Regions from separate parts of the Homo sapiens genome. Here region 1 is linked to region 2. The links are contacts of gene promoters, found by promoter capture Hi-C in blood cells and fetal thymus (Javierre and others, 2016). All regions are on one chromosome and are shown on one strand. Each heading gives the region's core, a stretch centred on a gene start or on the middle of the fragment in contact. The rest is flanking DNA. Distances are from core to core; before and after follow the strand shown.

Region 1 (4,728 bases), core at 1,154-3,653, 44 kb after region 2:
AAATAGAAGCTGTAGTTTACTGTATAATTTTCACAGAAGTTCCTAAAATGTTTCTGTTTTGCTAAAGGGTGAATAAGAGGTAGCATTCGGTAAGTCACTGAAATGAATGCAGTCTAGTCTAGAGCTTATCCTTTTACTCAGCAAGCATTTGTTGAGTGTCACCATGGGCCAGGCACTTTGCTAGGTTCTGAGCTTACATTGATAAAAGAATGTGGATCTAGTCTTTCCTTCCTGGAACCTGCTAGAAAGATACACAGTGCAAGGAAAAGCTACACTTCCCCCTTGCTTTGCCTTCATAGAAGGCAACTGAGATGTATTGCCTTCTATTGTTCAAGCTTAGACTGCATGACTCAAATTTCACCCCTTATAAAGGCTAAACTTCCTTAAGCATCATGCACAAGGCTAATTTTCAATGTTTTCATTCCTTGCCTCTTAAGGGACTATTTTGAGGGACTATTTTGTAATGCATAGTTCTCCTTTGAGTCCTCTCCAAGTTCTCAAAACAAATTCAGAGGCTGAAAACTTGTTCAGAACTCTGATATCGAAGTGTCTCCTTGCTGAGTGTTTTAGAAGGATTACTTTACAATTCCATTAAGCTCTAGAGAATGCCTATTTATGCATCCCTTGGGTTTTCATTTGGGGCATTCCTTCATTGTGTAGATAGGAATTTTCCTATATAAGGATAGGTGACTTAGTTACAAAGTTGTCCAGCTGTTTTTATGAGATTGTATGACTGTTATACATGATTATGTCATCACTGTATTTCCTTCATTGCAGTTTGGCATACCAAGAATCTGAGGTTAGTCATTAAGTCATACTTTTTTTAAATGGAAAGAACATATACAAATATTTACTACTCAATAGTCAAAAGCACCTATTTTATTTTTTCTAGAAAATTCAGAATTGTTAATAGGCAGCAATAAATTTCTTAGTATAGAAATAGCTATTAAGATGTAATGTAATATGAAATATTATTAGTTCAGTATTGTTATTTACTGATTTTGGAAACATTTGATGTTATCATTATCAAATTTAAGTAAGTTGTGATTTTGCTCTTTCAGATTTCATATAACTCAGTATTGGGAAAAGTAGAACATATCAGTAATTAATCATATGTGTATAAATTCTACAACATTCATATGACTTAAAGTTTTTTCTTGGACTTGACCATTCATTTATTAGCCAGAGAGAAATAAGTTTGTTTAAAAGGTACAGAAATGTTTTAAGTTTAATGTCTATTTGTGGACATTAGTAGATAAAATCTTATAAAATTAAAATATTTTTGTGTTTCACATGAGTTAAAATGGAAAAACCATAAATCTATTTATACATTTAAGAAACTAAAGTTCCTATAGTAAGAAACAATAATGTCACTATTATTGCCTTCAAAGAATGTATTCTTAACAATTAAATTACCCAAAAAAGCCTCACATAAAATGGAATGAAAGTGAGAAGCTGCAATTCATTTACAAACTTATCCATTTTCTAGCCTCAAATGTACATAAACTTTCTAAGGAAAAGAGGGTAGGTTCTCATTTCTGAGGAAAAAAGGAGTAGTTTTTCACTTGTCTTGTTGAAACACAGGACAGAACATTAGTAAAGAGTTTGCAGAAAGAGGTATAAGATACGGTTCTTGCCTCTAGGGAGTGTGTGATATCTCTCCTCTTAGGGGCAAGAAATGAAGACAGACTTAATTATAATTATAATTATAAGCATACAGTTAATGCTTTAAATGTTCAACGGAACAAATATAAAGACAAAATCTCTTATATTTGGGATGATAAAAAAATATCTTGAAGACTATGGGATTTAAACTAGGCTTTGAAAACTGAAGAGACTACTGAGAGTCAGAGATGAATCAAGTTCTGGGGAGAAGAAAGACATCTAAGGTGAGGGAAGGCCCTAGGAGGTTAAGACATGGAAAAATACAATAAATATAATTACATGAGATAATTTCTATATGAGTAAAACATTGACAACCCAATTTATCCATATCCAAGGTGGCAGGCAGTTTGATTTTCTCTGATGCTCACAAACATTACATAAGCCCCTGGCAAAAATTTTGAAGAACTGATATACGATTTTCCCCACCACATCCAGATGGCTTAAGTTCTAATGAAAGTCTACGGTCATTCAAAATAGGTAATAGGCCTCTCATATGGTATCATATAATCGGAAAGGTATTATTTTTCTTTAGACTCCATTGCTCACATCAGAACTCCCATTCTTTGGCCAGGCAGGAAATTGTTCAGATATATAAGCCTTACAGGGTAGAGATTACATCCAACTGATTCATGTTTGTGTCCCTCGTGGTACCTGACACACAGTGGTGTTTAGTGCTAGTTGAATTGGTATGATCTTAAGTTTAAATTGAAGGGATATTTGAAATTTATTGGTACAGCTACTTGCATATTTTAGGCAACCAATAATTTCTTTTCACCAGCACCTCAAAAAATAAGGCACCTTACTTCTAATTCTTGTACTAGATCTTTTCACCAAAGAAGACTTAAGAACAAGGCACATGTGACTACCCAGTTTCCAACAATGATAATGATTCTTATAATACCACCTTACATTTATGAATGTTATATGATTTACAAAGTAATTTTGCCTTCTTGTATCAATGGTACCACAATGACTTCTGTGATGTAGTACTTTATCACCATTTTATAGATGAAAAATGAGGTTGAATGACATTAAGGAATTCACCTAAAATTTCAAAAATAATAAACAGTTGTGTCTAGAACTCAGTTCTTCTGTCTCCAAATCCAGAATTAATTTCTACTTTATTATGACTAATTACATGTAAATTATCTTGTTATGTCTATATGCCATTTACTTTGATAGTAGTGAGGTACTAGCTAAATGTACTACTTAGGAGTCATAATAAAGCAAATGTTCTCATAAAGTAATGAAACTAAAGTGTTCTATTTTGATAATTACTTGGGCCAGTCTAATAGGCATTGATTAATCTACCTCTATTGTTGGATTATATATTAGATTTTTTTCTTTTTCCAGTCATTCTTTTATCCTATGAATCAATCTTGTAAGGGACAGCAGAGCTTTTCGCCTGGTAGGGTTGTGTGAATGTATCTGTGCAGTGTACACTGCAGATTTTCAGAGTGTACAAAAGAAAGGCATGTAAGCATGTACTTCAGTCTTATCTTTAATCTTAATTTGGCTCATAAAAATGCTATTTGAGGACTAATTAGTTATTATCCTTAGGTGGTTGCAAATGCGTTGATTTATAATGGTTGTAAACCTACAAATAAGCATGGTCTTAAATTTATGAATTAGAGAATTGACCTTTAATAGTGCTTGATGCTTTGTTATACTAGTGCTTCAGCATAGCTTTATAACAACTCTAAAGATTTTTCTGTAGGCTGATTGGACTCTGTGTATCACAAAATAGCATCAAATAGTCTAATCCTCCTTCTCAGACACAGTCAGACTGTAGGATATAATTATAATTTCAATAATAAACTTTGAAATCTATGTCAACCAAGGAAGAATAATTGTGCCAACTGATAAATCATTACTTTATTGTCATTTCAATTCTTTCAACTTAGCCACAAATGCTAATTAGAAAATAAACATGGTAGCAGAAAAACTATGCTTATGTTATTTTATGTGATTCCTGTAAGTTTCCTACATCTTGTTCATTATCTCATTTAGGTCAGCACTTATGTTTCCTAAGACACTTTTTTTTCCCCCAAATTAGGTGACATTTTAATAATTTTAGACTAAAGTAATAAAATATTCAAATAATTGACTTGATTAATTCCTTTCACCCTGGCTATATCTAAGTAATTTGGAAACATCATAAGTTCAGTGAAAATGTTAATATGAACACATGTGGTGATGCCATGCAGAATTAACATCTGGCTGGTTGAATTTGAGACTGAGTTGACCAGATGTTTTGTGTTCAAGTTATTTTTCTTATTTGAACAATCTCAACTTCTTCTCTCTACTTCATAATTTCTTAATTTCAGCTGTTCTCCCTGGAGGCAACCCCCCTTCTTTCAAAGGTTAACCCCTTCACTTGTGCTCTTAATCCTCTCCTAGCCAGCCTCCTCTAAGACCTTGATCCACCCATGATCCCCCTGCTCTTGGGTCTTCAGTGCTCCTCTCCACAGTATCCTGGCCTCTTACTCTACAAATATATACTTAATCCTTCCCTATTACAGAAACATTTTCCCTGGGCAGTCCCCTTTACTCACAGACTTCTTAAAGGAACAATGTTACTGTCCACTTTTACTTCTTCACACATCCCTTAGCCCATTAAAATCTGACTAGGACTTCTTGAACACTATGGAAATTTCTGCCTCATAGTTGCCGGTGACAGCTGTCCTAATTCCAATGCCAGCGTTGACCTAGGTGTTGCACTAAACTTCCTTTGTTAACCCATTTCTGTCTCTCTCTGTCATACCATGCCCACCTTTTCTGCCCATTGGAATCCTACATATCCTAGAAAGCTTAGTACACATGCTACATTCTACACTAAGCCCTCACTAATGTCCTTCAAGTTTCCTTCTTTTTTTGGTGGTCCAATACCACTTTTTCCATAATTCTTACATAATTCTGATCTCATTCTGACTTGTGTAATCTAAATGTTCTCAGGCCTCGTTAATATGTGGATTTAAATGATATTATATTAACATCAATGCGTAAATTGATATTACTTCTACTTTCTACATACATCACTGCTTAAAACCTACTGTTGTTATT
Region 2 (4,896 bases), core at 1,254-3,753:
CTTTCTTCCTGAAAAATGGAAACTATGAAAGGGGAGAAAAGTGAAAGACATTACAAAAGGGAACAAGAGCAACATGACTGGGAGTACAGAAGTATAGAAAAAAGGAAAAAAGAAATAGACATAAAGTAGACGAGATGGACAACTAAGGGTTAGGAGAAACACATTTTAAAAATGTATTAAATCCAAATTATAAAAAATGGTACAATGATCATTGTAAATTGTTAAATTTATATCAGTGGGGCATTACAAATATGGAACAGTTTTTTAAAATGTTTTCAATGGAATTTATCCCTCACATGACATAAAAACATTTAATTGTATCTTCCTTTAGGCATAAATGTTGAAAGAAGTTCGTTTTTTAAATCTGTTAAATTTTTTAAGTACATACGTGCACACAGATGAACTTGGTGTTAGAAGTGCTGCAAGCTGTTTATTAAAACTTAGAGTGCTGTCAGATTCCCCTGATATTTTCAGATGTTTGTTTACCAGCAGTAGCTTCAGAAGCAAGAAGAAAACCGGATCATTTATAATTGTATTTGGCTTAGATAAATAAAAGGTGTTTGGCTAAAGGTTCTTCCTAATTGAAGTCACTTTAAAATTCAATAAAAAGAACTGGCTAAAGAAGCAAACCCTAGGTATACAATAGTTTGTAATCATGAAACCAGCCTAGATTCAAACCCTTTCCTGAAAGAAAAATAGAGAAATATTTGTTGCCCTGGGGATGTTGGTGTATCTAGAAACAGAATAAGCAACAGATAATAATAATTTGAAGTTTTATTTATTCATTTTTCACTTTCTTCCAAAATCTTGCTTGGGTCAATATTAGAAATAAGAAAAGGGCCATTTTGAAATATAAACAAAAATATAAGTGTTTAGCTCTCTCAAATATCTTAACAATTATGAAATTATTAAAATGTTTAAGAAAATAATTCTAAGATAAACTTGATTTACTTGTATTAAAACAAAAATTAGAGACAAAATTGTGGACTTCCTTTTAGGTAGTTTTAAAGCATTACTTTAAATAGTTTCAATTAAGTGTAAATAAGGTGAATTTAATAGTCTGACAAAGAAATAAAGCCTGGATGCTCTTAGTTCAATTCATTAGTGATGGCAAGGTATATAAAGTAAAATTGCTTAGAGAAAGAAAAAAATCAAATGGGATAATACTTCAAAAAAATAGAGACTGATCACCAAAAGTCTAATGAAGGTTTGTGAATCATGTTTTTCAAATGGCCATTTGAGTAGCGTGACTCATGCAATATCCTCCCTCCTTGGCCTCTTTCCACAGTCAGCCAAAAATTAGTGATGAAAATCATATGAGAAGGAAATGTATCAAGTGGTTTTAAATCCTGACATAGAAACATGGTTTGCATCACCATGAATGCCGAACTCTAAAACTGCAGGTATCTTGATTAGGTTGAGAGAGAAGTTTAAAAATCACAAGTGATACTTTAATGGTTTCACTCCAATGAAGTGGAAAGGAGCTATCTTTTAACATTTTTCTTAACATCTTTATTTTTTGCCTGCCTGATTTTATTTATTCCTTGATCTGTGAGCTCTGATATGTGAAGTGTATTTCTATGGTTCTAAGGTAACTTTTAAGCTTGATGATTTTCACCATTGTGGATCAATAATATAATTTATCCTATTTCTCCCACTGTGGCAATACTGAAATAAAAATGTAAAACCAGTTTATCTGTTTTCTAATGCCTGGTTTACTCTTCTGAATTCTATAAATCATTCTGTTTTTCATATATACACATACATATGCATACACTATATGTATACATATAAATTTACTATATATGTATATATACCTACAAATATATATGCCTACAAGTATCCATATATACCTCCTATATATGTATATAAACCTACTATATATGCCTACAAATATATATATACTCTCTCTACACACACATACATGCACCTACACAGAAATCTGCAGGAAAATGACACTTTCACATATTCAAAGGGATCCCAAAAGAGTTCAAAAGCCAAGATTGGAAGCACCAACCCATGGAAAGATGTATTTAAAATCACAAAATACTTCTGTGGACACTGAGAAAAACCAAGCCACACAAACGTTTACATATGAGCGTGATTAGAAGGTGGGCAGACTGCCTTAATCAACTTTATATAAACTCTTGACATAAAAGTGAAAAAATGAAACATAAATGATATATTTTCTTAGCTCAACCGTTAAAAAGCCAATTACCTACTCGTGAACGTTTGCCACATACAATAATACTTTGAAGACACTTCATGATCAGAAGTGAGAAACTCTAGGCATTTGCATCCAACCGTCATTTTATCTGTGAAACTGCTAGTAAAACATAAACCTGAAAGGCATTACTCCCAGCTCTAAGGCGACATCGCTGTCATTAAAGAAAACCTGTGCCTGAGTTGGCTGAGTACCTTCTTGCAGAGTCCTCTGTCCTCGCGGAGTGGGAGGGTCACACTGGGAGAGACTAATAAGGGCAGAGATGCGTCCCCCTTCCCCACTCGCAGGGAGCTCACTCCTCGGCGGTGCCGCAGCCCTGTCCGGACTCCACTGCGCCTCTGAGGGGCTCAAATACGAATTCAAGGTAAGCTGCGCGGCTTTGCGACCGGCTCTGCACTTGCCCTCTCACACATGCCCGGGCTATGTCATCTGCTCGTGTTCCTAGTTATCTGTGTGCATCTGCTTTTCAAGAAAATGTAAAAACTGTGCTACACATGGAAATATGTTTAGGTGGATAAATAATGCACACCTGCATACGTTTCCATAGGGGCCTTAAGGATGGGACCAAAAACGTTTGGCAGGAGACGGCCACTCTCATGTGGTACATACCATGTAGTTCGTGTTCCTATGTTCACATGATGCAGGCTTCATGCGTTACACCTAAGTTCTAGGTGGTTTTTCTGGCTATGTGTGTCTGTGAAGCGGAACTATGGAGCACTGCTGATGCGGGTAGGGACAGACATCAAATACATTACAAAAAAAATGGGGGGTTAAAGGAGTAAAACAAACTCACTATCAATTCATGCCGTTAGAGCGCTTTTTTTTTTTTTTTTTGACGGTGTTAGCCCTGGAAGCGAGGCAGCCAGTTAAGCGGCGTAAGCTAAGAGACGCGGGGTTCCGGTGCGGTGCCCTCCGGCCCGGGGTTACCTACTCCACATGTGGGTGTTTTTCCCAAGTGCGGCTTCTGGGGGGCGGCGCGGGCGCGGGCGGGGATTCCCGGACTCCAGCCCCACCACGTTCCGGAGCGTCCGGCCCTGTTCCTTAATTACCCTGCAGCATGCGCAGCGCGGTCGGCCACAGCGCCGCCGCCGTCCCCGCAGTCCTCCCTGCAGCCACCGCCGCCGCCGCCGGAACGTCCCAGTCGCGGCGCGAGGAAGACGCGGCCCCAGCCTCTGCCGCCTCCGCTGTCAGAGTCCCGAGGCCACCGCCGAGAGCGCGCCGGCGCCGCAGCCACAGCGGCCGAGAACCAGGAGGCGGCGCCGGGCGGCCCAGCTAGGGCGCTGCAGGGTCGCGAGGAAGTTTGTTGGCCCGGAACCAAGCACGCCGTCGGGCACGCTAGCTCCCCGAGAGCAGGCGGGCGCGTAAGCGAACCCCCTTAGAGGTTACGGAGGGAGCGGGAAGCCGGCAAGAGGGTGGGCAGAGGAGCTGGGGGACAGGCGGGTGCCACAGGAGCCCCCGAGGAGCTTCATTTGATGAGAAGGTGAAGAGGCAGAGGGGACCAGCGTGCCTTGTCAGCCTCAGGGGACAGTGGGCTGGAGAGCAAAAAGAGGAGGGCCCAGAATGCTGATAATAAGTAGTTTTAATAGAACAATCCGTGAATAGAGGCAAGAGAGTGATCATCGGCCACAGCTTGAGATTGGGAGATGGAAGAGTAAGGGAAATAAATTGCGCCACCTCCCTCAATCCCCAATTCCAAGACGACTCAGTCCCATCTTCTGCTTGGATAAGTCTGAGGAGGATTAAGATGTGAGGATAATCACTCTGCTGTAGGGGAATTTACATCTGCCTGTTAATGGAGGAGATGAAACAAACGCACACCAGTATCTATTTTCAACCACCACCCCTCCCCAAAAAGGAGAGAACACCAATGCCTCCCCCTCTGCCCGAATCAAACACTGCTATAATTCTTTAGGAGACTAAAGGGAAAAAAAAAAAAGAAAGAAAAGAGCCCCTGCTCGTATGTGGGGTCTTGGCATCTCCTTGTTTTTGAGTGGTGGGAAACTTGCAGGACCCTCTCTAAGTAGAGAGATCTTTGATATGGGCCTGCAAAGCTGAGATATTTAGGTATTCCAGTGGTGAAAAACATGCATAAATGCCCCTTCCTGAGGAGGGCTGACAGGGTTTTTGTGTAGGAATATCTCTTCAGGATGAAAAAGAGGAGGGTGACCCCCAGAGGCAGAAAATTTATGCTCTCTCTAGGGGATAGAAAGTGGAGAAAGTAACTGTCAGGTGCTTCCGTTAGGTTTTGTCCTACCTGAGCTCTCTAAGTGCTAAGGGACCTAAATGGGGTTTCCTGGGAAAGGAGGGAGACAGTATGGCAAAAGAGCAGGAAAGTGAACCTGAAACTGAAATGGACAGGACTAAGAAAGAGCAAAAAGGTGAAAGAAACCCAAATGTGATTATTACCACAATTGGGACATCATCTCTATATCTGAATCATTCTCATCCTAGAAAACCATCCAAAACAGATGGGAACTGTTGGTATTTTCCAAAAATGGAAAATTTCCATCTACTTTCTGGTCCTCCAGTTTAATCTCTCCTGCTGCAATTTTAGTTTATTTTCTCCAGCAGGCAGAAATGCCAATGTGGGTACACAGAGTCAATGGTTCTAGAGGCGGAAGAAGATATGAAGTTAGAAACCATGGTAGTGTGACTAAGAGGCATCACAAATG

The links. The method cuts DNA at HindIII sites, captures the fragments that hold promoters and counts their contacts. A CHiCAGO score of 5 or more calls a contact.
Region 1: a fragment that was not itself captured here is called in contact with the fragment with the promoter of COL19A1 in region 2 in 2 of 17 cell types (naive B cells and total B cells); the score reaches 7.2 in naive B cells.

Annotation. Positions count from the first base shown.
Region 1 is chr6:69,907,684-69,912,411 of GRCh38, forward strand. All of the region lies in intron 4 of COL19A1 (collagen type XIX alpha 1 chain), which reads left to right. Among named protein-coding and RNA genes, the nearest start is that of COL19A1, 43 kb to the left of the region's middle. The HindIII fragment of the contact is 4,140 bases long and covers 334-4,473 here.
Region 2 is chr6:69,864,053-69,868,948 of GRCh38, forward strand. COL19A1 (collagen type XIX alpha 1 chain) reads left to right here and starts at 2,504. Exons shown (of 51, transcript NM_001858.6): 1 at 2,504-2,588. RefSeq lists silencers at 3,142-3,191, 3,412-3,461, 3,472-3,541. The HindIII fragment of the contact is 9,714 bases long and covers 1,602-4,896 here.